Linked DNA regions of Homo sapiens: region 2 is linked to region 1. The links are contacts of gene promoters, found by promoter capture Hi-C in human tissues and cell types (Jung and others, 2019). All regions are on one chromosome and are shown on one strand. Each heading gives the region's core, a stretch centred on a gene start or on the middle of the fragment in contact. The rest is flanking DNA. Distances are from core to core; before and after follow the strand shown.

Region 1 (2,687 bases), core at 105-2,604:
GTTTTTGAGACGGAGTCCTGCTCTGTCGCCCAGGCTGGAGTGCAGTGGTACGATCTCGGCTCACTGCAACCTCCTCCTCCCAGGTTCAAGCGATTCTCTGCCTCAGCCTCCTGAGTAGCTGGGACTATAGGCGCACACCACCACGCTTGGCTAATTTTTGTATTTTAATAGAGACAGGGGGTTTTACCATGTTGGCCAGGATGGTCTCGATTTCCTGACCTTGTGATCCACCCGCCTCGGCCTTCCAAAGTGCTGGGATTACAGGCGTGAGCCACTGTGCCCGGCCAAAGCCACTGTGCTCGGCCTATCACACAGTATTTTAACTGTTAACCCAGGCAGTTACCCCACTGGGGCATGGAGTATGTAAGGACAGAGCACTGTTTTTAATATTCTGTTTCCCTAGAGCCTAAAACAACCTATTACCGATGGCATGCTCTGGGTACTCAACACATTTAATAAACGGGTAGATTCAACTAATAAAAATTTAGCAAGTGGCAGCCCAGTCCGGACACCTCACACATAATGTTGAACAAAACAGACCATCTCTAACTTTATACAGTTTACAATGCAATAGAAAAGCATAAGCAAGTAAGCAAACCAAATCTAATTGCAAATTGAAATATGTTCTGTGGAAGAAATAAATGGGGACACTTGTTAGGATAGTCAAGGAAGGGTTATCTTCCTGAGAAAACATTTACACTGAGACCTGAAAGCTGAAAAAGAAGTGGGCTAAGCTCCTCTACTTTTGGAGCGGTTCCTTTCCATGTCTCAGGTGAATAATCCAGCAGTGGGCCAACGAGTATACATCGAGCAACTGTCTACTACTATGTGTGTGCCTCGTGTATGCTGGACGTCAGAAGTACAGTGAAAGATGCAACCACGCAAGTATACGGTAGGTTTCTGCCGTTCTCTGTTCTCTGGAGTGCCTCCGGAGAGCTTCTCCGTCTCAGGCCCCTTTGACCCCATCCAGAGCTCTCCCTTCTAGGACTCCACACTATCCGTTCCCCCGCCTCGCCCCCCGGCTCCGATTCACCCACCCAACTCGAGTATCAGCTCCCAGAGCTCCTCTCTATTCCCCGCCCTCTTCTTCTTTGTCCGGGGTTTCTCCCTTCAGGGCTCCTCTTTGCCTCCTCCCCTCCCTTTTCCCAGGCCCGGATCTTGCCTCTGTGAAACCCCCATAAGTCGTCTGGTAGAACTCATCTTCCTCCTCTGCCTCCAAAAGCCCAGAAAGCCGGTTCCCAGCGGTCTTCCGGGGTGCCCGGCCCCCAGCCAAACTCATACCGCCTACCGAGACTGCGCCGCCACCTGCAGCCCCTCACCAGCTCGGTTTTGGGAGCTCGACGCTCGACATCACTACCTGCGGGTGGCCACCAGCGGCGGAAGTCGGGCGTTTACAGGCAGAAGTAACAGAGTGTCGAGAGACTCCCAGTCCCACCCTCTAAACCCTCTTTACTCTTCAGCCTCTCCTACTCCTGCGCGGATGCTCTAGGCCGCTTGCTCTAGTACCCAGCGATCTCCCTTGCTCAATGAGTCCACTTGGTGGTACGAAGACCCCCATAACCCTAAGTCAACACATTTTATTTTATTTATTTTTATTTTATATATATATATGGTTTTTTTTTTCCGTAGGGACGGAGTCTCGCCTCGCTCTGTCGCCAGACTGGAGTGCAGTGGCACGATCTCGGCTCACTGCAACCTCCGTCCCCCGGGCTGAAGCGATTCTCCTGCCTCAGTCCCCCGAGTAGCTGGGATTACAGGCGCCCGCCACCATGCCCAACTAATTTTTGTATTTTTAGTAGAGACAGCTTTCACCGTGTTGGCCAGGCTGGTCTCGAACTCCTGACCTCAGGTGATCCGCCCGCTTCGGCCTCCCAAAGTGCTGGGATTACAGGCATAAGCCTGCGCCCCCAGCTCACATTTTCTTTTAGAAGAGGTCATTCTCTCCGCTCCAGTCCATTTTCTACACTGCTGCTAGTAGGAAACTTTCTAAAAACCCACGTTTTGCCACTCCTGTCCTCAAACATTTTTAATGGCTCCACATCATCTACAAGATAAAGTCAAAAATCCTTGAGGAAGGAAGCATAGTATTGTGGTTAAAAACACAGCCATAGACATTTATCCAAAGGAAAGGACATAATTCAACCTGAGGAAGCCAATTTAGGAGGAAAAAAAAAAAGGAAATCAGTATATCCAAGAGACGTCTGCACTCCATATTTATGCACCCCCATATTTATTGCAGCACTACTTAGAGTAGCCAAAATAGGAAATCAATCTCTGTGTCCAACAACAGATGAATAAAGGAAATAGGGTGTATATACACAATGGAATACTTTTCAGCCATTAAAAAGAAGAAAATCCTGTCATTTGCAGCAACATGGATGGAACTGGAGGACATGTTAACTGACTTAAGCCACGAACAGAAAGTTAAAACACTGCATGTTCTCACTCATATGTGACGCTTTTAAAAAGTTGATTTCATAGAAGTGAAAGAACAGAGGATACTGGAGGCTGGGAAGAGCAGGGGGAAGGAAGGGACAGGGAAAGATTTGTTAAAAGACACAAAATTGTGGCTCACACCTGTAATCCCAGCACTTTGGGAGGCCGAAGGGGGTGGATCATGAGGTCAGGAGTTCACGACCAGCCTGGCCAAGATGGCGAAACCCCATCTCTACTAAAAATACAAAAAT
Region 2 (2,687 bases), core at 61-2,560, 590 kb after region 1:
GCTCTTTTTGGTCTCAGTGAGCAACGTGCTGAGAGAGGCATCTGTTTCTGTGGCCTGAGTGGATGAAAACAGGAAAAAAGGAGGAACATGTTGGCTTTTAGGAAAAAAGAGGCCACCCTTTCATTCTTCTCATAGGACCTGGTTAAGGCAGTTGCATTTGGCTACCAAGAGGGACAAAATGCTCCTTTGGTCAACTACTGGAGGAGCTCAAAGTCCTTAGGAAAGCTAACACAGTATCAGGACTAGAAGCCCTTAGTGTCTATGTGCTAGATTTGCCTGGAAGCAGCACCCTATATAACTACAATAGCTCACCATGTCCTTCAACATGTCTGGGACAGCTCTGTTTTCTTCTATGTCTTCAGGAAGCTCAATTGCGTATCCTTTGTGTACTAATTCTAGCCCAATATCAAGTTTCTGAGAAGAAAAATGAAAAGGGAATGATGTTCTCTCAGTAAGCAAGGGCAAATTTGAGGAAACAAGGCAGAAGGACTGATACTTTAAAGACATTCCTTTGGTGAGATGGTGAGAAGGATCTTACAGTAAGAGTAATATCAGATAAGGGTTTCTGAGGAAGAAAAAGTAAATTAGGCTATAAATATACTGAAGATATGGCAAGCAGTGAGTGAATGCCAGTCTTACCTTCCCATTGCTAGTATCATATAAGTAGATCTTTGGCCAAGTTGAGATCCCAGTCTGGACATAGCTAGAGATCTTGGCTACCAGAGGCTTCCAGTCAGCACAATGAGTGAGTCTATCAAACTCATCCAAAGCTTCCTCTTCCCACTGGTCACCTGGCAAAAGATTGTAGGGGTTACTGCTGATAGGGGTGGGGCTTATACCCTGGAGGGAAGTTGGAACTACCCTTTTCTACTCAGGAAGGCACCTGTGTCTTCTCTGGTTGGGTTGGGTCTGCCAGGCAAGTTTCTGGCTGCTGCTAGTGCTGGTGAGGAAAAGGCACCTGAGTCCCCAGAATTCAAAAAGCCTGGGAATGTGAGAATTCCTTCCAATGAACTGTATGAAGTTATTCTATTTGGAGGTAAGCTCAATAGATGGCATGACCAATTTACCTGAGGGAGCAATCCGTGCCAGACTACATTCTATTGCTTGAAATGGAAGGCTTAGGAAGTCACTCCTGAAGTAAAAGAAACTAAAATTAGAATCCTGGGGCCAAAAACATCTTCTTACATTGCTGCTTTCAGAAAGAACCAACTAACATGAGACGATAACCATCTGCTCTCTGTAAACAGGTTCCCTTCCAAATCCCCCTGACAACTGCCAACAGCTCACCACCCTATGGCCAGAACTGAGTCAGCAGTTGGGATTGAGCTGACCTCAGCACTGACCTGAGAGCCCTGAGGTCCTTCAGTGGGCAATCTCCATTATCTCCAAAGTCAACAAAATAGAGGTCCAAGTTCCCATTCTCCAAGGTGCCGAGGACCCGGGCTCGATACCAGGAACCATTTGTAGGTAAAGGTGCTGCTACAATGTCTCCTACATGCACAGTCAAGTCTTCAGGCTGTATGTGGGGAGGAGGAGAAAGGCAGAGAGTTACAAAGTGGTAGGCTCATAAACAGAATTGCAGGAGGAAGAAAGAAAAGTAGTTGCTCCACAGGGAAAGGAAGAGTACAATGAAAAAGATATGCCTTCTTTTCATTAAACCCCAGCCCTGTCCCTATGGCAACTCACCACACTATTCTCATAGTGCTGGGTCATCTCATTGACAAGCTTATCCAATTGCAGGCTGCGGGAGCCAACGATCTGGATCCAGAAGTGGTTAGGGTGCTCAGAAGCAGAAACGTAGACTTCTAGGTACTCATCAGCATGAAAACTGAAGTCAGGACTGGGGACTGAACACAGAGATAAGGATGGTGGCCACATCAGACCCATCTCTGGTTGGAATGAAGAGACTAACCAGGGTAGTGAGAGGTACAAATACCAATGGCTGTTACCATTTTAAAATGGCAGGAGAGGCAACTGGATGAATCAAACAAGAATATCCTAAAGAAAGATACTAAGCTATCCTTTGTACCTTTCCATGTAACTGAGTAATAACAGCTTACATTCTTTGTCATGTGCTACATAGTCAAATCGGTCACCAATTATACAGAAGGTAAACCTCCATATGCTAGCTACAGCATGGATCAGTAAAAAGGTATATGGACAGCAATCTTTACATGGACAGTGACGGACATGGACCTGTTCCAGATCCCATTCTACCACTGACTCTTTACATGACCCTGGACAAGTCTGTGAGCTTCTTGGGAATCCAGGTCCTCTTTGCCCACGCCAAAACCTATGTACAGAAGAGAAAGCTCACAGCCTTTTCAATAGTGATGATTTTTAAAAACAGTAATGAAAAAGGCAATATAAAATCTGGCTGAGAATTTTACTTGTTGATAAAGTATGTCTAGGCTGGGCATGGTGGCTCATGCCTGTAATCCCAGCACTTTGGGAGGCCAAGGTGGGTGGATCATTTGAGGCCAGGAGTTCGAGTCCAGCCTGTCCAACATGGTGAAACCCCATCTCTACTAAAAAATACAAAAATCAGTCGGATGTGGTGGTGTGCACCTGTGGTCTCATCTACTCGGGAGGCTGAGGCATGAGAATCACTCGAACCTGGGAGGCGGAGGTTGCAGTGAGCCGAGAATGCACCATTGCACTCCAGCCTGGGAGACAGAGGAAGACTC

The links. Contacts are between HindIII fragments. The study calls those that stand out against the background at their distance.
Region 2: a fragment that was not itself captured here is called in contact with the fragment with the promoter of VPS72 in region 1 in 1 of the 25 tissues and cell types used here (liver).

Annotation. Positions count from the first base shown.
Region 1 is chr1:151,188,843-151,191,529 of GRCh38, forward strand. It overlaps VPS72 (vacuolar protein sorting 72 homolog), which reads right to left and starts at 1,355. Exons shown (of 6, transcript NM_005997.3): 1 at 1,163-1,355. The coding sequence starts at 1,279. RefSeq lists enhancers at 1,330-1,399, 1,440-1,499. The HindIII fragment of the contact is 20,238 bases long and covers 1-2,687 here.
Region 2 is chr1:151,774,753-151,777,439 of GRCh38, forward strand. It overlaps TDRKH (tudor and KH domain containing), which reads right to left. Exons shown (of 13, transcript NM_001083965.2): 7 at 1,687-1,847; 8 at 1,344-1,516; 9 at 1,068-1,132; 10 at 640-791; 11 at 313-414; 12 at 1-54. Among named protein-coding and RNA genes, the nearest start is that of OAZ3, 9.4 kb to the left of the region's middle. The HindIII fragment of the contact is 4,030 bases long and covers 1-2,687 here.